4 separate regions of the Homo sapiens genome follow, and all the other regions are linked to region 3. The links are contacts of gene promoters, found by promoter capture Hi-C in blood cells and fetal thymus (Javierre and others, 2016). All regions are on one chromosome and are shown on one strand. Each heading gives the region's core, a stretch centred on a gene start or on the middle of the fragment in contact. The rest is flanking DNA. Distances are from core to core; before and after follow the strand shown.

The links. Contacts are between HindIII fragments. The CHiCAGO score rates a contact against its expected background, and 5 or more counts as called.
Region 1: a fragment that was not itself captured here is called in contact with the fragment with the promoter of SLC17A5 in region 3 in 1 of 17 cell types (naive CD8 T cells); the score reaches 6.7 in naive CD8 T cells.
Region 2: a fragment that was not itself captured here is called in contact with the fragment with the promoter of SLC17A5 in region 3 in 2 of 17 cell types (total B cells and naive CD8 T cells); the score reaches 6.9 in total B cells.
Region 4: a fragment that was not itself captured here is called in contact with the fragment with the promoter of SLC17A5 in region 3 in 1 of 17 cell types (total B cells); the score reaches 5.5 in total B cells.

The regions. Positions count from the first base shown.
Region 1 is chr6:70,661,914-70,667,970 of GRCh38, forward strand. It overlaps SMAP1 (small ArfGAP 1), which reads left to right and starts at 5,970. Exons shown (of 11, transcript NM_001044305.3): 1 at 5,970-6,057. It also overlaps the pseudogene SLC25A6P6. RefSeq lists a silencer at 5,752-6,057. The HindIII fragment of the contact is 249 bases long and covers 2,515-2,763 here.
Region 2 is chr6:71,281,862-71,288,471 of GRCh38, forward strand. LOC124901339 (a long non-coding RNA gene) reads right to left here. Exons shown (of 6, transcript XR_007059640.1): 4 at 2,999-3,079; 5 at 1-2,023. Among named protein-coding and RNA genes, the nearest start is that of OGFRL1, 3.6 kb to the right of the region's middle. RefSeq lists a silencer at 6,603-6,610. The HindIII fragment of the contact is 1,293 bases long and covers 2,658-3,950 here.
Region 3 is chr6:73,650,872-73,657,624 of GRCh38, forward strand. It overlaps SLC17A5 (solute carrier family 17 member 5), which reads right to left and starts at 3,121. Exons shown (of 11, transcript NM_012434.5): 1 at 2,922-3,121. The coding sequence starts at 3,015. RefSeq lists a silencer at 2,567-3,236 and an enhancer at 4,236-4,325. The HindIII fragment of the contact is 4,556 bases long and covers 1-4,276 here.
Region 4 is chr6:71,368,285-71,374,791 of GRCh38, forward strand. No RefSeq gene overlaps it. Among named protein-coding and RNA genes, the nearest start is that of MIR30C2, 5.5 kb to the right of the region's middle. RefSeq lists an enhancer at 1-262. The HindIII fragment of the contact is 212 bases long and covers 1,191-1,402 here.

The DNA.
Region 1 (6,057 bases), core at 1,389-3,888, 3.0 Mb before region 3:
GACAAGTTACTACACCCCTCTGAGAGGTGTCACTAGGCACTTCTCTTCATTTAGCTGTCCGCATCCTTTTCCTAACCATACCACATCACCTCTGGCCTCAAAGAAACCTATAATCATTGCTTGCTCCTACTTCACTTCTCACACACACTTTGGACACTTTCCTTACTTTACACTCAATAGTTAACTCTAGCACTGCTTCCTATCCTTGTACCTTTTTTCTTTTTTCCCTTCTAACCGTCCCCATCCCTCCCTCAATATTTCATGGAACCCTCCAGACAATCACAGGCTTTGGAAGTCTCATCAGATGATTTATCTTCTCTTGTTCTTGAGCTATGAAAGAAAACAATGAACTGTGCAGACCCATGACCACATGCTGTATGTACTGTCTAAAATGGAAATAATTGACTTTTCTGGAATAGTTGGCATTGGTTGGTGTTCACCCTTTCTTCTTCAAAACTGTTCCTTCCCTGGCTTCTGGTTCTCCACTGTTTTCAATGGTTCACCTTTCTCTGTCCACTCTTCATTTAGTAGGCAATCCCCAGAATTTTGTCTTTAGGTCTCTCCTCTCCTTTGTCTATGTGCTTTCTCCGGGGGAATGTCATCCATCTTTACAGCTTCTATGACCCTTTAAATGCAAATAATTCCCAAATGACTTTTACCAGCAGTAACTCCTCTCCAGAGTTCTAGAAGTCAATATACAATATCTCATTAGACACATGAAGCTGGATGTCCTAGGCACATCTTAAACTTAACATGTCCCCAAGCAAATGCTGCTTCTCCCCGACCCCAAATCTGGACTATCTCTTTTGTTCTTTCTTGTTTTTTCAGTGTCCTCTTTTTACTGTTTTGCAGAAGAATGCCCAACATACAACATGATTGCAAATATTTGGCTATGCAAAAGAGGAGATAGTGCTCAAATACAAATGGGAGACATGACTTTTTAAAAAATAAATATTTGCCAGGCATGGTGGCTCACATCTGTAATCCCAGCACTTTGGGAAGCTGAGGCGGGTGGATCACCTGAGGTCAGGAGTTCGAGACCAACCTGGCCGACATAGTGAAACCCCATCTCTACTAAAAATACAAAAAATTAGCTGGGTATGGAGGCAGGTGCCTGTAATCCCAGCTACTAGGGAGGCTGAAGCAGGAGAATCGCTCGAACCTGGGAGGCAGAGGTTGCAGTAAACCAAGATTGTGCCGTTGCACTCCAGCCTGGGCAACAAGAGTGAAACTCCATCTCAAAAAAATAAAAACTAAAATAAATAAATACAAAATAAATAAATAAATATTTAAACACAACTTGGGTTCTACAAGTGCCTGGACTACAGGTCTGTTTGAAGGAGCTGCCTTGTTTGTTGACCCATGGTGATGTCATAATTATCGCCAGTAATCAATGCGTGGATTCAGGGTGCCAATGGTTGAATATGATCATGGTGAACCCCTTTTCTAAAGCCTTCTCTAGTCCTCTACAGAGGTACTATGGCCAGGACCAAGAAAATGAAATTTCTCAAAGGTCAGTGGTCCATAACAGTTAAGTATGCTACATGATTCTCTTGGTTTTCATTTCTAGTGAGGAAACACACTTACTCTTCTTCAATTCCACATACAGGACAGGCCTAAAAGCTCCTCCCATATCTCTGAGAACATTAGACCATGCACTCTTGAAGAAGGCTTTCCCTTTTCCTCCTTAAAAATCTTCCTCCAGCAATTGAGGGTTCCCATGTGCAGTATGTTGGCTCCTTTGGGTCTGCACAGGGCCCAATGGGTAGAAGGTCATGTTGGCCGCACCACCACAGTCTGGGCAATCATCTGGCTCACCATGATGTGGTGGTCTTGGAGTCAGGGAGCATGCCTTAGGCCTTCAGGCTGCCCAGAAAAGGATGATGCCCTGCACAGAGATGCTGAAGCCCTGGTACAGGCCCCAGATCCCATCAGACTTACTTATCTTCACCAGACAGTCTCCTAGGTCTTTGAACCTGAATCCCAGCTCTGTGTACGATTTCCCAACATTGACCACCAGATGGGTTCTGGCAAAACCCAGCAAGTACACAAAACAGAGACAGGTGGCTCTGGCCGCCTTGTTGGAGGCCAGATTGTGGGCAAAACAGCTCTAGAACTGTGTGTGTTCATCCATACTCCCAGGAATAGCTGTGTCTGCTTATCCTTGAATGTGATGTTGAGGGCTTGCTTAAGAAAGTAGTCCACAATTCCTGTGCACTGCTGTCAGCTGTCACCTGCTTCCTAGCGCCTTGCATCTGCTACAGCAGCTTCACCTGCTCAATCAGGGCCACAACTATCTTGGCGACAGCAGCAGCAATGCCACCAGCCAGATGGTCCTTGGCAAAGGAGATCGCCTGTTGTGTCATGGTTGCAGAGCAGGAAGCTGAGCACATGGAGAACTGGGAGGATTAGTGCTGCTGGCTCAGCCCTGTGACTGCTGGACCTAGAGGCCTACCTCTTCTATTCTTGATCTGGGTTAACGGCATTACCATTTACCTTTCTCCCAACTTAGAAAGCTTGATGTTATTCTCACCTTCTTTCTCTTGCCCTCCACATACAGTCAGCTGCCAAATCTTGCTGCTTCTAATTTTAAACCATCATTTGATTCTGTCTCTCCCAAACCCTACGCTACTTGCTTAAAATAGGCCTTCATCATATCTTCTTTGGACTATTATTGAGACAGGCCTGTAATCTGTTCCCTTGATAAGTTTTTCCCCACCATGTTCTCCATACTGCCACTGTATGGAGAGTTACTGAGAAGAAAGCTTATCAAGCCATTTTTCCGTGTAAAAGCTTCTATTGGTTCTATAAACCCATGAGGTTCAAACTCTGTTGCTTGGCTACAAAGCTCTTAACCCTCTGGTGGCAATCTACCTCTCCATCTTGTTTCCTTTCCTACCTTCATGTTCTCCAAACACATTCTAGGTTTCTTGGGCCTCATATCCTCACTATGTCTAGCATATAACCCTGAACTTTCAGAAGTCCATACGTGTTTTTTAAAGCAATTCCTTTCTCTCCGCTCCACCCCCATTCACTTGAAAAATTCCCCCATCTGTTAAAAGCCAAGTTTAAGCATCACCTCCTCCGTGAAACTTTCCCAGATTTTCCCAGGCTACTGGATGTTCTGTTCCTTTTGCTCCGAGAACACTTTATAATTGCTATAAACTTTACAGTGTAGTCCTTTTCTATTTACATATTTGTAGCTCATAGTAGACTGTAAGCTTCTGATTATTAGTGTACTAGATAGAAGTTGTTTGATAAATACTGGTGAATAAATGCAATGTTGTTTTCTTCCCAGGATGTTTTGGGGACCAGTCTCTTTCTTCCTACTATAGTCTTAAAATACAATCAACTCAAATTTATATTTTAATAGCCTCTAAGCTGACCATCTAGAACCACACTATTCAATAATGTATCCACTAGTCACATGTGGCTGCTGAACATTTGAAATTCATCTACTCCAGGCTGGGCGCAGTGCCTCACACCTGTAATCCCAGCACTTTGGGAGGCCAAGGTGGGAGGATAGCTTGAGGCTAGGAGTTCAAGACCATGCTGGCCCACATAGTGAGACCCCATGGACCAGCAGGGTCTCGAACTCCTAGGCTCAATTTTTTGATAATTTCTTTATTAAAAAATAAATTCAGCCACTCCAAAATGAAATGAGCTGTGTTATACAGCATTTTGAAGAGAATATGAAAACAAGAATGGAAAGAAAATATGCCATGTTTTATATTACATCTCAAAAATATTTTGGATACATTGAGTTAAATCAAATGTATTAGTAAAATGTATTTTATGTTTCTTTTTCTGTTTTTAAATGTGGCTACTGCATTATTTAAAGTTATACGTGTGGCACGCAAGTATTTGTACTGGACATTGCTGTGACCCTTCAATCCATCCTGAAGGTTGTTTTTTGGTGGTAAACCTGTATTCTGTTTTTCTGAGTCCTCACAGTGCTGAACAGAATTTTTGTAGGGAGGAGAGGTACTCAAAAAATGGTGTTTGTTTACTGGTTACTGCAGGACTAACTTTCCCAAAAGATCCTTTTTATTATGCTATTATCCTACTTGAAGAATCTACAGGTTTTCTTTTTCTTTTTTTGGGGGGGGGGTGGGTGGGGAAGGAGTTTTGCTCTTGTTGCCCAGGCTGGAGTGCAATGGCCTGATCTCCGCTCACTGCAACCTCTGCCTCCCGGGTTCAAGCGATTCTCCTGCCTCAGTCTCCTGAGTAGCTGGGATTAAACAGGCATGCGCCACTACACCCGGCTAATTTTGTATTATCAGTAGAGACAGGGTTTCTCCATGTTGGTCAGGATGGTCTCGAACTCCCCACCTCAGGTGATCCGCCTGCCTCGGCCTCCCAAAGTGCTGGGATTACAGGCGTGAGCCACTGTGCCTGGCAAAAATCTACAGGTTTTCTACTGTCAATTTGCATCAAGGCCAGACTACTTTGTCTGGCTTCCCAAGTCTTCCATAACCCTATCATAGTTTACTTATGCAGCCTTATCTCAAAAGTAGTACCTTTTGTTCCAGTCTGTTTTCCAAGGTACTTCAGGTCTTCATGCTTTTGTGCAAGCTGCTCTTTCTTAATATCTCCCTCCCCAGTCCCCATCTAAATCCAGCGTATCTTCAGGACAAGGCTCGTAAGTTCTACCTCCCACATAATGTTTTTTTCTGTTCATTGGAACTCACCAATATCTCCCTAGTAGTTATTTGTCAGAGCTATGTAGTATAAGCTCTAATTTGTTTAATTACTGAGCATCTTCATTGCCATATCCATTCAATTTAATTCCAGAAACATTTTTGAGCCCCTGTGCCAAGAACAGGGCTAGGTAGCAATGAGGGTCACTTTTATGCAGGGACAGGGGCTAGAAATTGGCCTTACTAAGAAGTGTAAGACCGACTCTTGCTCATTGCCTTTCTTAGCATCTGCTTCATCGCAGGCAAGGACTGTGTTTATTTGGCTTGCATAAGCCCCATATTAGAACTTCCTCATAATATACAACATGCCAAATCATCGAAACTGCGTCACCCGGAGTTCAAACTTCATGAGCCTGGATTAGGGTCTGGGTTCCAATGAAAAGTGTTTTCTTTAGTTCTCTTTCTCTTGCATTAAGGATCACTATTTACACAGCTTCTTGTTAAAGTATCACCGCCTAGTACTTGGGTTCCTGGTCACACTTTCCCCCTTATGGAAGGGCTTACTGCCAGGTCTTTCAGACTCTGGAGCCAGACTGCTTTGGATTTAAATCTCAACTCCTCCACTAGTAGTTCTGTAATCTGGTCAGGTTACTTAACTCCTCTATGCCTCACTTTCCTCCCCTGTGTAATGAGGATAACAATATCATAAGGTTGGGGAAAGGGTTAAATGAGCTAACAGTTCGTTTAACAGAGTAATCACTCAATGAAATGTTATCCCCTAATACATGTCACTACTAGATTATTTCTCGCCCTTAAAATGTAAGAGACCGTTTTTCCTCTTTTCTTCCATCCGTGTCTCCAGCTTCTAAACTGCAGGCGAATAAACCTCGAATGAGTAAATGAACCCACCCAGTCGCTAGTTATTTCTGCATTTCCAATGTTGTGCCAGCAAGAGCAAAGGCAAATGGGCAAGTCAAAGTAGGCTTCTTGTAAAAGGTCTTCCATTACTGGGTTTTACTAGAGGCCCTTGCGGACCATCACATCTCAAAAGGGGGGAAAGCTCGTATGAGGCAGTGCCAGCTACCTTTCGGGAATCACCTTGGGCAGAAGGCCTTTTTGCAAAAAGACTCGGCAGCCCGGGCCCCGTAGGTTCGGCGCATGCGCAGCGCGCTCGGCGCCCGGGTTCCTTCCTCCGCGCCACCCGGAAGCCTCGGCGCGACCCAGTCCCCCTCCCCCTCCCCTCGCCGGCTAGGGTGGTGCGTGCCGGCAGGCCGGTCAAGGAGGCGGGACACGTCGGCGCTACCACCGCCACCGCCGCCGCCGCCCCTCCTCCCGTTCCAGCTGCCGCTGCCGCTTCCTGGGCTGAGTCCGCCCGCGGTCCCGGCGGCGCCAGGTGCGTTCACTCTGCCCGGCTCCA
Region 2 (6,610 bases), core at 2,054-4,553, 2.4 Mb before region 3:
TTGGAAACTGGGTACAACAGATGATTGGCCATGAAAGAAAAGTTTTGAATTAAGGCAAATCTATTCTCCAGGCACACTTCTAAAGGTAATTGTAAGCTATGAAGCCTGGAAGAAACAATTGTTGCTTGATAGGATGTCCCCTATCTTTGAAGAGATGGGCATCTGGATTAATTGTATTTCTCCCTGACACCTATAGCCATACCTCAGTTCTCTCCTAATGAAGTTGCTGACAGTCTATAAGGAATTAGTCTTTACCCATCCCCAAAACAGCACACCCATCTCATGGAAGGCCAGACCAGAGTCTGGGGTTGGTTTAGGCTTAAGCAGCCTGGACTTTTCTTTGGGCAGGAACATGATTTGGTTCCTCTGGTGCACTGAGACTGCAATTAGGTTTTAGGATAAAGTGCCAAATGCATCTACCGGTATCCCCTGTGGTATGTCCCAAGACCCAGTGACAGCAGGACTTCTGGTTGTGATGTATCCTCAGAATCATCTGCACTCAGAGGAGCCTGGAGGAAACCCATCCCTGCCAACTGCCCTTGGGGTCCTTTTATAAGATAAAGAGAAGGCAGAAACTCCAAGGAAGGCTGCAGGAAACCCATTAAGAATCACATATTCCTTGGCTACAGATTTAATGACAAGTGCCCTTCTGAGCCAGGGGAGAGTCCAGTGTGTTTACTCATCCATTTTTTATTCCGTTACTTGTAATGCTTCAGAACAGATAAATTTCAAGGATCAAGAATAAAAATTAAATAAAATAGGAATACATACTCAATATAATAATTGGGAAAAAAAGATTGTGGAATACATATCTATTTTTATTCAGGGAAAATAAGCAATAATTTTGGAGGGTAGGGGCAAAATTTCTTCTTTCTTTTCTTTTTTGAAGTCAAATATGTTATATCTCATAGTATTTATACTATTTTTTATATCAAAATATGGTCTAAATGCTGCTGAATTATCCAAATAAGAACTCTAAACATTGTATTTGAACACGTCATTATTTTTAAAATTTAAATATGGCCCTATTTTTAGTCTACAGGCTGAATTTATGCAAATGATGATTAACTGAATTCTTATATTAATTTCAACTTAGCTCCACTGATATGTTATTATGCACTAATTCAACACTCATACATTCTATGGACCTTTTACCTTTGCTTTATTAACAACTTTAGTGCGATTGGTAAAAAAAAGTCTTTAAGCTGTGAAAATACTCAGTATCAGTTATGAGTTTAGAGTTGGCCTTTGAATTGTAAACTATTTCTTAGGAATAAATTAGTTCTGTAAAGTTAAACATTCTCTTTCAGCAAACCATAATGCATGAATTCTAGAATGTACAAGTTTTTACATTTAAATATCTCTGAAATAAGATGCATTTGAGAATAAATGATTCTTAGGTTCCATGAAATGCAATACGTTATTGCTTTGGTGTATTAGCAATGCTCCAGTGGCCTGGAAAAGGCTGCAAAGGCACCTGACACATGCAGCCAGGTCCGTCATCTACTTCCTATCTGTTACTTTACCAAGAAATAATAAAACCAACAAAAAGAACTACCAGAAATAATGAAAACAGGGTTGCTTTTGATGAAAGAGGCTAAAGATTGGTTTTTGAAAAATGAACCAATATCCAAAAACCTTAAATCAAATGCCCTGGCCTGCTTTGTCCCTTACACACCTCACGCACCTGTTCTCTGGCCACTCTGGCCGTAGGGGCTAATCTTGTTCTTGCCTGGGGCCTTTGTCCATGCCAATATCTTTGCCAGGAATGTTCTTCTCTCTGCTCTTTGTCAGGCTAATTTCTCTCCTGTCTTTCATTTCTTCCCTTATATGTCACCTCCCCAGAGAAATTCTCTGACTCCCAGAGTAAAGCCAAAACCCCATGATCTCACTTTGCCTGCATTATACTTACAATTTGTAATTATTATTATTTTTGAATGTATTAATTGCTGTCTTCCTTAATATATTCCTGACCCTAGGTCAGGAGCTCTCCCTAGGGCAAGGTGGCTTCCCATGATGGATGCTGATGAAAAAAATTAAGTGAGAATAACAAAAATGAATGAACGAACAAACAAATAAACAACCCCAGCAGTACACACACAACATATCCTGCTATTTTTTGATACATTTGATATATAAGATTTGGAAGACCACACGGGTTCAGAAGAGTCTTGGCAGCAGTTTAGGTGCCAGTGAGGGAATTCAATTCATTTGTTACCAATATTTGATAGTAAAATATTTGACCCTTTATATCTATAATAAAAAATGCAGGCTGGGCGCGGTGGCTCACACCTGTAATCCCAGCACTTTGGGAGGCCGAACTGTGTGGATCACCTGAGGTCAGGGTTTCAAGACCAGCCTGGCCAACATGGCAAAACCCCGTCTCTGCTAAAAATACAAAAATTAGCCAGGCATGGTGGCGCATGCCTGTAGTCTCAGATACTTGGGAGGCTGAGGCAGGAGAATCACTTGAACCCAGGAGGCGGAGGTTGCAGTGAGCTGAGATTGAGCCATTGCACTCCAGCCTGGGTGACAGAGCGAGACTCCATCTCAAAAGAAAAAAAAATGCAGAAATCTCTTTGCTACTACAAGTTCAGTTTAGTTGAAATTAGACGTATGTGTGTTTATTTCTGTATCCCATTTAAAACAACCTTGAAAGCTTTGTTTTTGGTATACAGGAATTGCTTTAATTGCTGGTCATTTCTTTGAGAAGAATAAGAAGAAAGAATATTAAGGAAGAGGTAATGGACAGCAGAGATATTTTTGCAACAAGCCTTAGAAAGATAAAAGAAACATGCAGAAAAACACTGAATTGCACAATTGCATTGTCCAAAAAGAAAGAAAGATTTTTGTAAGAGGGGCTATGGTGATGTTAGTGGTTGGCAAGGATACAGGAGAAGATATCTCAGAATCATACAAAAAGTATAGAATATTTGCAGGGAGGAAGGAGGAAAAAATATTTTGTTTTCATAAATTATAACCTATTATAAACTCCTACCTTAAGGAAGGAAGATCCTGGGAAATTTCCAGCAAGTCTTGTCTGGTCAGGAACTCTATGTGAGGTTGTACATGCTGTGTCCTGCATGAAGAGTTCAGTTAAGGTGGTGGGAGGGAACTCCAGTTCAGGCCCTGCTCACTAAGCCCTGGAGCAAAGGTGTCTTATTCTCAAGAACACAAAGTTCTCATGGGTGCTAGCAGAGGCCCTTGGCTACAGTCAATGGAAAATAATATTACAGCATGTTACTACTAATTTCAGATGTTTCTTTAGAGAGCCATCTTTATTATTTTTAATTTTTAAAATAATACTATTTTTTTTTCCTCCAAAGATTTCAGGTTCCTGTGAGGTACTGAGGAGTTAACTCCTGAGGTTGGGGAAAATGGCCCTTGATCTGCCCTTTCCTTTTATTTGAAAGACTCTCAAATTATGTAATAATAAACCTTTGTTAATGTCCCTAAAACAGGATTGACTATAAAAGACAATTCAAGATATGCCAGATACATTTGGGTTTCATCCAAAAAAGTTTAGTTCCTGAAGCACCAGTTTCTTTGTCCTTTGTAAAATGGCCTCACCCTTAAAGGATTTCATAACGAAGTTGAAAACAGAGTTATATTGAAGCATGGCTATAGCATCTGCTTAATTTAGAGCAGATTCTATTTACAGGGAGTCAGAAACTATATTATAGTCCATTGTGATAATAGTTTCTCCTTGTTCCATACATGTGTATATTACTGTTGAATTATATGTTCTTTAAAGACATATTGAATGAATCATCATTACAGCTAACATATATTGATAAATTAATAGATGCCTGGCACTGAGCTAAGTGATGATTTTTATATGAAGCAAAGGTACCCTTCTTTACTGTTGATGCAGGAATGTTAAATACTCTGCAAGGCAGGGATAATGAAAAAAGTTTAGGTATTCGAGAAGGATAATTCCTGTGTATAGAAGCTTGGGATGACAGAACTTCAGCATTAACTTGTAAAAATAACACATAGATTGGGCACAATGTGGTCGTGCTTATTGCTCTAAACTTAAAATTGATTAAATATTATATAAGGTTGGTGTTACGCTTCATGTAAAATTATGTTCTTTAGAAAATATATTGCAAAATCTGGCATATCATCTATGGTCCTATAAAAATTGACACATTTTTCAAAAGGTGGTGTAAAAGGGAAGGATTTAATTGCAGTAGTTACTTAAATGTTTATATGCACAAACACAGATACTTCTCACCATTCCATCATCTACTGATGTATAACAAACTACTACAAAATTTAGTGACCTAAAGCAACAGCCATTTTATTGCATTTCACTCTTCTGTGGGTCAGAAATCTGAGCAGGGCTTTGCTGGGTAGTCCCTTTATTCCAAGTAGGGTCGATGGAGGTCACTGAAAGGTATTCAGATGGTGGATGGGTTGGTCTGGAGGATTCAATAAAAAAAAAAAAACAAAAACGTGGAATCCAGCAGGGGATACTGGAAGGTAGGCCTCAGCTGGTACCATGACCAGAGGATGACCAGAGGCCACACACAAGTGGCCTTTCTAGGAGTATGGCAGTCTCAAGCTAGCTGAACTTTTTACATGGCAGCATGGGGCTAACAGAGAGAATATTCCAAGAGACCCAGTGGAAAATGCAAGGTTCCTTATGGCTTAACTTAGAAAATCCTGGACTATCACTTCTTTCATATTCTATAGTTAAGCAAGTCACTGAGGCCAGCTCCTTCAAGAGTAAGGAATAAGACTACTTCTCAATGGGAAGAGAGCAAAGAACATGTGGCCAACTTTAATCTACATACACCTAAACCAACAGATGGAGCGCCTGGGACACAACAACTATCCTTAGACTTTCCACATCAACAATCTCGGAACACTTAAGGCTGGATGGACAATATCTACTTCTGCAATGTGTTCCGGTCTTCTACCAACGGAAAATCGAATTCCCAGCTTTGAGCAGTTGGATTCCTGTGGTATGTGGCTGCCCCACATCTTCTTCTGCTAAGCCATTATAATCAAAAAGTATTTTTTTTGGCGGGGGGTGGGGGCAATGGAGTCTCACTCTGTCGCCCAGGCTGGAGTGCAGTGGCCTGATCTCAGCTCACTGCAACCTCCACCTCCCGCGTTCAAGTGATTCTCGTGCCTCAGCCTCCCAAGTAGCTGGGATTACAGGCGCCCGCCACCAAGCCAGGCTAATTTTTATATTTTTTTGTGGAGATGAGGTTTCGTCATGTTGGCCAGGCTGGTCTTGAACATCTGACCTCAGGTGATCTGCCCGCCTCGGCCTCCCAAAGTTCTGGGATTACAGGCGTGAGCCACCGCACCCGGCCCCAAAAGTCTTTTTGTGCACCCCGTGTCTATTTCTTATTAGTTTCAGAGCTTTTCCCAGTCATAGGATCACAGAAGGTCAGAGCTGGAAGGGCTCCCAGAGATCTGGTTTCATTTTACAAATGAGGAAGTTTAGGTTCATGTGACCTACTTAAAGTCAGAAACTGATTAGTGACAGAGCTACAGCCTAGATGTCTTGTTGCAGTGCATGAAGAGCTTAGGTAATCCTGATTTATCCATGGAATAGGCAGCTGGTTTACCTGATTCTTCCCTTAGAAACAGTCCATCTAACATGATTTGGCTTCCTACTTCATCATGAAACATTTGAAAAGAAACTATTCATTCCAAGTTCAACAGTTTAATCTTCAAATATCTAGCTCATCTTTCTTAGTCCATATTTAACAAATGTTTACTGAGCATCCACCAAGTTGACAGCACTGTAAATACAGACACACTTTCAGACGGGGGCTGCCTGCAAAGAGGCTTCCCTTCTAGTTAGAAAGCCAGAAGACACATTTTACAACAGTCACTTTTCTCTGGGTCACATATTTGATAATACTACCTTATCTTTACGTACTTCTATAGGCTTATGCCTGTAATCCCAGCTATTGGGAGGCTGAGGCAGGAGAATTGCTTGAAACCAGGAGGCGGAGGTTGCAGTGAGCCGAGATCGCGCCTCTGCACTGCAGCCTGGGCAACAGAGGGAGACTCTGTCTCAAAAAGAAAGAAAAGAAAGAACAGAACAACAGAACAGAACAGAACAGAACAGAACAGAACAGAACAGAACAGAACAGAACAGAACAGAAAAAAGAAAGAACTTCCCTAACACAGTTCTCCCTCCTCCTTTCATTTGCAGAACAGACCACAGGGCCGAGGCTTCTTCCATTAGAAACAGCCCATCTGTTCTACTGATTCTGAGATTTTTGCCTACACGGAGCACCAATTTGTAGTGGGTGTAAGGTTACCCGCAAATCAATGTGATGGTCCAGTTGTTACTGTTCCTTTTGTTTCACGAGCGATTGCTCATTAGATGAGGTGACTGATAGCTCTGACTTTTTCTAGACCACAAGGACTCTAGGTGGCTGCCCTAAGTACAGTTGTGGCAGCTGGGATTTCCTGTTTATATGGTGCCCGGCACCATCAGCTTTTGTCCTCTGCTGCAGCTAAAGTGTCTTCCTCCTGGACCAGGGAGAGGGGGAGGGGGTGTGGACAGGACCCGCCTGCTGACGGTGACACCTCTTCGACACCACGTCCACGCCAGTCCTCAGCTCCAGGAGCTGGGCGG
Region 3 (6,753 bases), core at 1,871-4,370:
GAATTAGCATGCTGACACAATTCTACTTTCTACACTTGTATTCTACTTATGGAATAGTCATGACGGTAATTAAGACAGACAGACTCATAATCCTATCAAATCTTCAGATCTACTAATTACCAATTTACAGTAAATCAGGAGGGCAGAAGATGTTAAAGGACAACATAAGGATATAAAATTGCAGGGAAAAGAAAAGGAGCGGGGCAGGGGAAACAGATTAAAAGAGACAAAAAACATTTCAATCATTTGGAAGGTATGGACATTATTGAGATCCTGATTTGAACACACTATAAAAAATTAGGACATAGGCCCGGCCCGGTGGCTCAGGCCTGTAATCCCAGCACTTTGGGAGGCCAAGGCGGGTGGATCACCTGAGGTCAGAAGTTAGAGACCAGCCTTGCCAACATGGTGAAACTCCGTCTCTACTAAAAATACAAAAATTAGCTGGGTGTGGTGGCGTAGGCCTGTAATCCCAGCTACTCGGGAGGCTGAGGCAGGAGAATCACTTGAACCGGGGAGGCTGAGGCTGCAGTGAGCCGAGATCGCACCACTGCACTCCAGCCTGGGCGACAGAGCAAAACTCCGTCTCAAAAAAAAAAAAAAAAAAAAAAAATCAGGACATAATTGAGGAAATATGAACACTGAGTATTTTGTAAGTATTATTATTATTTTATTATTATTATTTTTTGAGACGAAGTCTTGCTCTTGTCACCCAGGCTGGAGTGCAGGGGCGTGATCTCGGCTCACTGCAAGCTCCGCCTCCCAGGTTCACGCCATTCTCCTGCCTCAGCCTCCCGAATAGCTGGGACTACAGGCACCCGCCACCACACCCGGCTAATTTTTTGTATTTTTAGTAGGGACGGCGTTTCAGGCGTTTCACCTTGTTAGCCGGGATGGTCTCGGTCTGCTGACCTCAGGTGATCCGCCCGCCTCGGCCTCCCAAAGTGAGTAAGCATTATTTTTATTTGCTGTGATAATAGTACTGTAGTTATGTTAAAAAGAGTCCTTATCTTTTAGAGGTAAATAATTGAAATATTTACATATGAAATGACATGGTATCTGGGATTTGCTTCAAAATACACAGTATGTATGAGCATAAGGCAAGACTGGCCATGAATTGATAACTTTAATCTGGGTGCTGGTTACATGGGGGCTCATTATATACTTCTCTTAATTGCCATATATGCTCCTTCTCTATAAAACTTATCATATTCTAAATAGCAAAAACAGTATGTTACTATTATTTCCACTTCACTTGCTCTCCAGTGGGTATGTAAAGAGGGAAAATAAAAAAGGAAATGGTTGTAACAAACGTAGCCACCTAAAGCCAGGAAGGACAGGGCCAGTACCATAAGATCCATACACTCAACACATGAATCAAGTAGGGATTGTTTTTAAAAGGGATGCTATAAGCTACTTTTTTAAAAATCAACTTTATTGAAGTATAATTTACGTGATAAATGTATACATTTGTCCATCTCAATCTTTATTGAGATGTATAACTTTTCTATCCACATCTCTGCTAACATTTGGTATTATCAGCCTTTTGGATTTTAGCTATTCTAGTGGGTGTATAGTGCCTCGTTGTAATTTTAATCTGCATTTTCCTGAGAATAATGTTTAACATTTGTGCTAAATTTTGATTATACATATACATATTTTTCAATTGTAACAATGTAATAATCTCTGGCAAATATCTTTATTATAACTTTTATTTCTGTATTTCTATATTATTTTATGAGGAATATTATACAATTTGAACACTACAAGCCACAGAAAATGATCAGTTTATGGAACTAAGTCCGACTTCCAGGTAAAACGTAACTATGGTATGGTATTTACAGTTTGTGTTGACTAAAATAAGCTCCCGGCTGCCAGATGGAGCTATAAGGTTGCCACCTCTACTGCCACCATCTGGTAACATTAAAAACAAATAAAAATATAGAAACTATACAATTCTGGGTTAGCCAAAGTCAAATTTCCAACACAACTCTTTCTCACGCACAGATCTTTGAAACTATAGAATGCATTCAAACTGATTTGTTCTTTAGTTTTCGTTACTTTTAAATAAACTATATTACAAAAGTGTCAAATAGCAAAATATTTTAATTTTCTCAAATTCAGGGAAGATGCTTTATGACGTACCTGCTTTTCGATTTGTTCCAAGACCTTTGGCAAATTACTTTAGAACTCCATAGGTATCTTGAGGATAACTGAACCTTTTCCTAACTTAAATCATAGACTGCCAGACGGAAAAAAAATGTCCTCGATGTTTTTAGTCTCTTACTGCACAATGTCAAGATATCAGCTGGGTTATACAATAGTTGCCCTCTGCATACTCACAAATGTTAACTCCAGTCCTTTTTTGTCTTCCCTCCCCGCCTAAGAAGCTACCAGGTCACATGCTGGCGGATACGCAGTGGCGGAAACCTAGCGGTGACAGGGAAGGACAGCCCTCTGCCTACTGATCTGCAGGTTTCTCCTCCAGTTTGCTCTTACACCGGGGTCCTCCGCTCGGACCTTAGCCCATTCATTTGATGATTCTCTCCCAGTTCGTTCTTCCACTGGGTCCCTTGCTCAGCACTACCCAAAATAACCACCAGCTCAGCGCCGGCTGCACCGCCGCTCCCCCGCCCCCGCCCCCGCCCCCGCCCCCGCCCGGTGGGGCTGCACCTGCCGAGGCCCCGGCTCGGCTCCGCGATCACGGTCGCGGCCCCCGGGGTTCCCGAGGGGCTTCTGCGCACCGAGGCAGGCGGGACTGAGCGGCACTCTGAACGGGCTCCCCTCTTAATGTCCCCTCGCGCCTGAGCAGCTCCGGTCCCGCCGGCGCAGGGTGCGGGTACCCGGGCCATGCCGGCCCAGAGACCGCCGCCCCCGGTACCGCTGCCCACTCGAAGCCCCTGGACGACCCCGCCGCTTACCGGCTTCGGCCCGTGGGGCGCCCGGTAGAAGAGGCGTGCGGTCCGTGCTCTCCTCGCCATCGTTCCGGGCCAGGTCTCGAACCGGAGACCTCATGACGCCTACGTGAGCAGGTGTACTCGCCACCTGGCAGAGAAGGGAGCGCCGGCCCGACAGCCCGAAGCCCCCGGGCCGAGCTGGCTGGACCGGGCGGGGCGGGGGCGATGACACCGCCCCGCGGCCACGTCTAGTCCCCGCGGTCCCGCCCAGAGGCGGCCGCGCCGACTCCGCCCCCGCCGCCATCTTAGGTGTGGGCAACTCTGGCTTGGGTTGGACTAGGGAAGCGGAGTTCTGGGAGTTCTCGTAGGATTGGCGCAAAGTGAGCCCGCTCCGCCCGCCGGTCTACGCATGCCGGGGAGCCGGTGTTCGGACGACCGTCTCCCGCTCCTGCACCCCCTTGTAAAGTGCAGGGGCCACCCTGCCCGCAGCGAGGATGAGTGGGGGCTTGCGGGCGGGCAGTGGGGACTTGAATTGCACATAATTAAGGGGAGGGCTTCGACCGAACTAGGGAAGTGGGTGGTGTGCATTTCACAACTTGACATTCGCTTGTTAGCGGTCAGTTGCCATACTGTTAGCAACCTTTGTACGATCTACCTCGTGACTGTGGCGGCATATTTACCTCGTGACTGTGGCGGCATATTGTCCCTAAAATAGCTTTTTTTTTTTTTTTTTTTTCTCCCAGGCAGGGTCTTGCTCTGTTGCCCAAGCTGGAATGCAGTGGCGCAATCGCAGCTCACTGCAACCTCCAACTCCTGGACTCAAGCGATTCTCTTCAGCTCCCCCAAGTAGCTGGGACTACAGGAGCATGCCACCACATCTGGCTAATTTTGTTTCTACTTTTTATTTTTGTAGAGGCTTGGTCTTATTATATTGCCCAAGCTGGTTTCGAACTCCTGGGCTCAAGCAATCCTCCTCGGCCTCCCAAAGTGCTGGGATTACAGGCGTGAGCCACTGCTCCTGGTCCTAAAATAGCTTTTAGGCGGAAAAACAGCAATGGAAATTTGTTGAGTCCTATGATGTTGCTGGTTTTATAGGTAAAAGTAATCAACATAGGTAGTTTCATATGGTTCGACCTATGGAATCCTCTGATGTATGTGTGCATGCTTTATCTCCACGATAGAATTTGGATAGATTGTGCTAGCATTTGCGGACTCTGAAAGTGAAACTAGGAAAACCCAGCTTGCCTTGGCAGGGCAGATCTGGATCCGCCAATAAAGGCTGTCTCTGTGGAGGTAGAAAATAAGATGTAGATGCTCTCGGAGAGTTTGGTGTAGACAGGGAAGACCCACAAGCCACTAATTCAGTAAACCAGGTTAGAAGCTTAGTGAGGTTCACGTGAGAACAAAGGGGAGGGTCCTTTACCTAGAAGGGAGGGCGAGGATTTCTGTAGGCATCCCTACCTCCAGATCAGTAAATGCTAGAAAAGTTCTCAAGTTAAAGCAGCAAATCAAGCCTTGTTTCTGAGTTACTGAATTACCATGTAGATTTTTACACTCTCTAAGGGTTGTAGAAAAATGCAATTTTCAAACTGGATTATGCAGAGTCACCTGGCAAATCCTTTTAAAATGTAGATTCAGATTCAGCAGATCTGGTGTGATGGTTAATTTTATGTGTTAACTTGCTGGTTGTCTTTGGATGAGGTTAACACTAAAATCATTGAACTCTGGGTAAAGATGGCTGCCTTCCATAATCTGGGTGGGCTTCCTTCAATCAGTTGAAGGCCTATCTAGAATAAAAAATCCGACTCCCCCACTTCTCTTGCCCAAGCAAGGGAGACTTCTCCAGCAGAGTGTCCTCAGACTTCATCTGCACCACAGGTCCTCCTGGGTCTCCAGGCATGTGCACCATCATCTGTTTTGGGTCGAGTTGGCCAGCCTATATTGTGAAAGCCAAAACTTTATTACCCAAACTACCCAATTGGGGCTGTTTCTCTGAGAAGCCCAGTACATCTGGGATGTGCCTGAGATTCTGTATTGCTAACAAGCTCCCAGATGACCAAGGTTATAGATAACTTGGGCCAGGGAATATAGTTGCAACAGACTTGAAAGACTTCAAACCAGAGGAATTCTTTTTTTTAATATTTTTTATTTTAGAAATTTTAGGTTTACATAAACGTTGCAAAGATAGTACAGTGAGTTCTCCATACCCTTTGCTTAGTTTGACCTATTATTAAGATCTTACATTAGTATCATGCATATATCATAACTAACGAGCCAGTATAGATAATTATTAACTGAAGTTCATACTTAATTTGCGTTTCTTTAATTTTTACCTAATATCCTTTTTCGGTCCCAGGATCTCATCCAGGATGCCACATTACATGTCTCCTTAGGCTCCTCTAGATCGACAGTTCCTGACTTTCATTGCTTTTGCTGACCTTGACAGTTTTGTAGAGTACTGGTAGGTTTTGTAGAAAGTGTCTTAATTTGGGTTGTCGAATTTTTTTTTGAGACGAGGTCACGCTCTGTCGTCCAGGCTAGAGTGCAGTGGCACGATCTCGGCTCACTGCAGCCTCCACCTCCCAGGTTCAAGCGATTCTCCTGCCTCAACGTCCCGAGTAGCTGGGACTATAGGTGCATGCCACCACGCCCGGCTAATTTTTTGTATTTTTAGTAGAGATGGGGTTTCACCATGTTAGCCAGGATGGTCTCCATCTCCTGACCTCCTGCCTCAGCCTCCACCTGCCTCAGCCTCCCAAAGTGCTGGGATTACAGGCATGAACCACCACCCCCGGCCTGAATGTTTTTCTTATAATTAGACTGGGGTTATGGATTTTTGAGGGAAAGGTCATAGAGGTAAAGGGCCATTCTCATCATGTAATGTCAAGGGAATGTGCTGTCAACTTATTTATCACTGATGTTTATCAGTAGTGATGGTAAGCCTCATTGCATGCCTGAGGTTGTGTTTGTCAGGTGTTTTCACTGTGAAGTTAACTCTTTTCCCCCGGCCTTACTTTTCTCTTTGGAAGGAAATCAGTATGTGCAGCCTTCACTTAAGGGGTGGGGAGTTATCTATACTCCACCAGTTTCAGGGGAAGAATTCTTTTGTTTGGGAGATTTGTTTATTCTCCTACATTTATTTACTTATTCAATCATTTATTTTTATTAGTATGATGTCATGGTTATTATTTTATACTTTGGGTTATACTCCCAACACTATGTTATTTATTTTGTTGCTCAAATTGTTCCAGCTTTGGTGACTAAGAGCTCTTTCAGTTGGCTCTTGTGTCTTGCATGCCTCCATTGTTGTGTTTTTTGAGCATTCCCTTACTTTCTGGTACAACAAGATGTTCCAGGCTCATCTTGTGTATTCTCTACCCCTGCCATTTCTATAAGGAGAATGATATTACAAACTAACATCTGAGCATTGGGTGTACTTCTTCCTATTGCAGTGTCATTGATTCTAGGTTCAGAGGAGGTACTTTGGTTTTTGTTTTTATAATCTTCCCAAGAAGATTTTGAGACAGGATCTTACTCTGTCACCTAAGCTTGAGTGCAGAGGTGTGATCACGGCTCCCTGTAGGCTCCACCTCCTGGGCTCAAGTGATCCTCCTACCTCAGCCTCCCTGGTAGCTGAGACCACAGGCATGTGCCACCACGCCCTGCTAATTTAAAAACATTTTTGTTAGAGACAGGGCCTCCCTGTGACGCCCAGGCTGGGCTCAAGCAGTCCTCCTGCCTTGACCTTCCAAAGTATTGATATGATAGGTGTGAACCACTGTGCCTGGCCCCAAGAAGATTAAAAAAAAGTATGATGACACATTTTTTCCCCCTTATATCTGGCATTTATTTCCTG
Region 4 (6,507 bases), core at 47-2,546, 2.3 Mb before region 3:
AAATCCTTCAACTTCAGTTTCCTGCCCTGGAAAATTAAGACGATGATACCTAACTTAGAGGATACTTGTGTTTATCACTTCATGGTCATGATCAGACCTCTGGTGCCACACTGCCTAGGCTGAAATCCCAGTTTTAAGGCTCGTTAGCATAACCTTGGGCAGTTTTCTTAATCTCTTTCATCTCAGATTCCTCATCTGAAAAATAATGTTCATGCATATTGAACTGTGAGGATTAAATCTGTTAATATAAGCCAAATGTTTAGAATAGTGCCCTGTACATAGTAAGGACACTAAGTATTTGCTCTTGACCCCTGGCATGGCTTTGGAATGTACAGAATCCTCAGTGATTATTGGTTATCTGATTATTATTACTATAATAGAAGCCTGGCTTGCTGCTGCCCGTCATTGACTTACTAAATACCTGTGAAAGGAAAGTCAGCAAAAAAAAAAAAAAATCAGATTCCACAAAATGAGTTGGAATATATTATGTAGAATTGAAAGGTTCACTGAAGTATAAGTTTAGCAATAAGCACAACAGGGGTAGTCCCCACAAAATTAGAAGCTTCCTGAGGTGGGAGCATCTAGTTGCTTGCTACTGATGTCCAATGCTAAGACTGAGCTGAGTATTCGTGGAGTGGGATGGGTTGAAATGGCCCAGAATAGTTGCAGCGATTGCACTGTAATTAAAAATGTCTAATTGGAGCTATAGGAAGGCAAGCAGAGACTGGCTTCTTCAGCACACTCATACAACTGGGCTAGCTCCAACATTAAAACTATTTTTAAATTCAAAGGTGGTTTTTATTATATATTTATTTTCATTTTTTTATTTTTTTGAGACGGAGTCTTGCTCTGTCACCCAGGCTGGAGTGCAATGGCAGGATCTCCACTCACTGCAAGCTCCGCCTCCCAGGTTCACCCCATTCTCCTGCCTCAGCCTCCCGAATAGCTGGGACTACAGGCGCCCACCATCATGCCTGGCTAATTTTTTGTATTTTTTTTTTTTTAGTAGAGACAGGGTTTCACCATGTTAGCCAGGATGGTCTCGATCTCCTGACCTCGTGATCTGCCCACCTTAGCCTCCCAGAGTGCTGGGATTTTACAGGCGTTAGCCACCACGCCCGGCCAAAGGTGGTTTTTAAAAATGTGGAATTTTATTTGTCTTCATAGGAACACCTAACCCTAGTGTTGAAAGCTTTTTAGTACAGCCAGAAATTCACGGCTTTCAAGTGACTGAATTATATGGTGAAGTCCTGGATGTTATCAGATTCTCAAATAATGGGCATTACCAAACTACAGAAATAACTAATCTACTCGATGAAACTTGGAGGTTAAAATAAAAAGTATTTTTCTCCCTGGGCCAAAAAGAAGTATTTTAAAGCCATACTTGGCTTTTTGATGACAAAGCTTTTGATGAATTCAAAATTACAGAATGTTTCTAGACACTTTAAAGTCACAGGGCATTTAAAAAGTCAGTTTTAAGGTAATTTTTTATTCTTTAATTGTGGTTAAGATCATCCAGACCATCATATTTATCTCAGACATGCAAACTAGTATACTACAGAGATGTGTTAAACTGAAGACATAAATGTATGTATAGTTCAAATATTCCTAGAAGTAAATGATAACTTTAAGAATGTTCATCCTGGTGAGGGCACTGTTATTTTGTTCAAAACTATTTCTTGTTGAATGAGACTATTCCAAGCCTCATAGGAGTGGCATTCTGCAGTTACTGTGACAAGCAAAAATGCCTGCACACTGCACACATTTCTAAACACTACTGTGGGACTGTACTGTCTCCAGAAGAGACGCTTCAAGGGGACTTTGTTAGCATACGTGCCTTGCTGAAGGAATCACGGTTTTTGAGTTTGGGTTGAATATTTTTAAAGTTTCTTAGTTCAGGCTGGTTGAAACTTTTTCTTTCTTTCTTTTTTTTGGGGGGGGCAAGATCTCACTGTCACCCAAGTGGGAATGCAGTGGCACAATCACAGCTCATTGTAGCCTCGATCTCCCAGGCTCAAGAGATCCACCTGCCTCATTTCTCATTTTTTGTAGAGACAAGGTCTCACTATGTTGCCCAGGCTGGTCCTGAACTCCGGGGCTCAAGAAATCCTCCCGCCTTGGCCTCCCAAAGTGCTGGGATTAGGGGTTTGAGCCACCGGTGTCCGGACAAAGCTTTTTTTTTTCTCCATAATAAAAGGAAATTTTAAAAGACACTTTTAGCACCACAAAATTCTTTTGTCCAAAGAAAAAGCAAAAACTAATCATAATAGCCATTCTAGAAATTAAAAATATGAACAGTAAGTGCATAATCTATTCATATTCTTGATTCTGAGGAAATCTTACATTCAACAAATATGATAGTAGAGGGCTTATGTTTTTCTGTCCCAATCCTGGGTTACCTGACTATAGAAAAGATTAAAGAATCAGAGTCAGAAGCTGGCAGTGTCTCCTTCAGTCCTCCTGCGGCTCTACCGAGAGCCTATATAACCCTGGGTAAGCCAGTTAACCGTGTTTTGACCTCTTTCTTACAACGTGGGTAAGTGAGGCAATGCAGCAACATGGCAACAGCCGAATGCCCTTTAACATCAGCCTTTTTTCTCCTCATCTTTCAGTAATTTCGTTACTTGCCAGAAAATGAGGTGGACTGGTAGCTTTTGAGGGAAGTGATGTTCTAGAAGACAGTATACACTGCAGTATTTTGGAGAAAAGAGAATGTTTGCTGAAACGTCTCTTTGCTTATGGATAGCGTAATCTTTTATGCCAGTTTCAGAGAACGTTCCTCAAGATATGTGCTGTTGCTATGTTTTTAGAGAAAGATGATCTGGGATAAAGTTTCTCTTAGTGACTGCTGGAATAAGAGTTTTACCTGCCTTATTTAAGACCAGATAATACAGCGTTTTTTTTTTTAATTTTAGAAACTTTTAATTAAAGTATAACATACAATCAGAAAAGTGCATGAGTCACCATAGATATGTATCACCATAGATAACTATAGTTTTGCCTGTTTTTGAAATTAATGTAAATAGAAACATACGGTATGTTCTCTTCAGTGTCTGGTTTATTTTGTCCAACTTTATGTTTGTGAGATGCACTTATATCAGAAGTTGCAAATCATTCATTCTCAGTGCTAGATAGTATTCTGTTGTACGAATATTTCACAATTTACGAATCCTACTGTTGGCATTTGGATAATTCCTGATTTGGGGCTATTACAAATAGTGCTGCTATGAACATTCTTATTCATTTCTTCTGAAGAACACTGTGCAAATTTCTGTGAGGTAGGTAACAGCAACTGGGTCACAGGATATGGATCTGTTCAGCGTAAGTAGAGACCACTAAGAAGTTCTCTAAAGTGGCTGTACCAACTTATGCTTTCATCTGCAGTGTTACTCCACCTCCTTGCCAATACCAGATTTTTTTGTCTTTTTAATTTTACCCATTCTAGTAGTTGTGTCTTGCCATTGAGCTGTGATTTCATTTGCACTTATTTGATGACTAATAAGGTTGAGCAACTTTTTATGTTAATTGATCATCTACATATCCTCTCTGGTGAATTATCTGTTCAAATCTTTGCTCATTTTTCTACTGGGTTGCTTGTGTTTTCTAATTAATTTATAGGAATTCTTTATATATACTGGATATAAGTTGTTTGTTATATGTGTTGCTAATACCTCCTCTGGTATATTTTGCCTTTTCATTTTCTTAATGTTGTCTTTTGATGAACAGAAGTTCTTGGTATTATAATCCAAATTACCAGTTTTTTCTCTTTCTGGTTGGTGTTGTGTTGGGAGTTTTTTAAGGGAATTTTGCCCACTCCAAGGTCATAAGGATATTCTATATATTACTTCCTAGAAGCCTTGTTTTACCTTTCGTATTAGGATCCATAGACCATCCTGTCTCCAGTGTACTTCAGTATCATCTTTATCATAATAGTGTGTCTATTCTATTTATCATTTATCTGTTGTGTATCTGTCTGCCATTGTGCCAATATCACACTCTCATCATTACTATGGCTTTGTAACAGATCTTGATATGTGGAAGCATAATTTCTCCATCTTTTTTTCAAGATTATCTTGTCTAGCTTTTGCTGTTTGAATTCTAAATTTTAGAATCAGTTTATTAATTTCCAAACATACACCTGCTTACATTTTGATTGGGACTGTACTGAATCTACAGATCAACTTGGGGAGAATTAGCCACTTAACAATACTGAGTCCTGTTCTCTATGAACATGGTTTATCTCTCCATTTATTCAGGTCTTCTATAATTTATCTCAATAATATTTAGTTTCCAGTGCGGAGGTCTTATGCATCGTCTGTTAGATTTCCCCTTGGGCATTTGATAGTTTTTAATGTTATTATAAGAAGTATCTTTTAAAAATTTTCATTTTTATTTGTTTGTTGCTGATATATAGATATACAACTGATTTTTATATATTAACCATATAGTTTTCCAATGATAAAGTTAACCAAAATAACACCTAAAACCCAATTTTGTAATTAATAACCTGCTTTCTGCTATTTTAAAATGATGACAGCAGGCCGGGAGCAGTGGCTCATGGCTGTAATCCCAGCAGTTTGGGAGGCCAAGGCAGGTGGATCATCTGAGGTCAGGAGTTTGAGACCAGCCTGGCCAACATGGTGAAACCCCGTCTCTACTAAAAATACCAAAATTAGCCGGGCATGGTGGCGGGCGCCTGTAGTCCCAGCTATTTGGGAGGCTGAGGCGGAAGAATTGCTTGAAGCCGGGAGGGGGAGGTTGCAGTGAGGTGAGATCACGCCATCGCACTCCAGCCTGGGCGACAAGAGCGTGACTCTGTCTCAAAAAAAAAAAAAAAAAGAGAGAGAGAGCAGAATTATATTTACATTTATAGAAATCTAAGCCAGAGTAGTTTATAGAAATATATCACCACTAGGTATTATAAAGAATTACTAATTCGAACAAATAGAGACAAGGAGACTATAAATTCATAAATGAATAAAGTACATATGATACCTTTATTTCTACTGAGTTTTTAATGACACAATTAGGCTTACAAAGCTTGTCAATTAAAGCTTATGTCTTTTTTCAAATATAAATGGATGTTTACATTTAAAAGTAATCTGTTCTTTTAAAGTCTTTATGGCGTTTGCTTAGCAACCAATATATAAACATAACATAAAGATAAATCATCCTTACCAGTATTTAGAGAGTTACAAACTTGAATAGAGTTAGGTTCAAATTAATATGTTTACTTGTATCAGATACAATGATAATTTGAATATATATAACATATGCAACATATATAAACACACAAACATGTAACTTTTTATATTATATAACTCCTTAGCAATATCATCTCAGCAAATACGAAGAATTTCAAAAAGTTCATGGAAAATACATATTATGGAAAAACTATACATGGATTTCAATTTTTTCTTATATCAAAATAAACTTGTACTAATTTGTAACATGTCTGAACAGGATCTATTTTGAGGCACAAAAAAGGATAAGAAATCAGTTTGAAAAGAGCCCTTATCAGAGCAATGTCAATTCTGCTAAAATTAAAGCAAGAACATCAAATTTATGGGGAAGTTTGGGTGGGAAAATCAGGAAATCATTGCTGCTTTACAAAATGTTAGTGGGGGCAATGCCCCAAAGAAATTGGCAGTTTACAAATGAATAATTTATTTTAAGAAAAGATGAGATGATGTTGAAGATGAAGCCCACTATAGAAGACAAACTACATCAATTTGCAAGGAAAAAAAAAATCTTGTTTGTGCCCTAATTGAAGAGTACTGATGATTAACAGTACAAACCATAGCCAACGCCACAGACATTCCAACTGGTTCAGCTTACACAATTCTGACTGCAAAATTAAAGTTGAGCAAACTTTCCACTCTATAGGTGCCAAAATCATTGCACTCAGATGAGCTGCAGACAAGAGCAGAGCTTTCAGTGGAAATTTTACACAAGTGAGATCAAGGTCTTAAAGCTTTTCTTTGAAGGATTGTGATAGGAGATGAAACACAGCTTTACTGGTATGATCCTGAAGACAAAGCACAATCAAAGTAATGGCTACCAAGAAGGGGATGTGGTGCAGTCAAAGAAAAGCCAAGCAGTCAAGAGCTAAGGTCATGGCAACAGTTTTTTGGGATGCTTAAGTCTTTTTGCTTGTTAACTTTCTGAAAGGCCAAAGAATGATAACATCTACTTATTATGAGAGTGTTTGGGGAAAGCTAGCCAAAGGTTTAGCAGAAAAATGTCCAGGAAAGCTATACCAGACTCCCTCTCCACCATGACAATGCTTCTGCTCATTCTTCTCATCAAACAAGGGCAATTTTGCCAGAGTTTCAGTGGAATGTCACTAGGCATCCACCTTACTGTCCTGATTTGGCTCATTTGGACTTTTGTTTCCTAATCTTAAAAAAATCTGTCAGAGCACTCATTTTTCTTCAGTTAATAATGTTAAAAAGATGGCACTGATGTGGTGAAATTCCCAAGACCCTGTTCTTTAGGGATGGAATA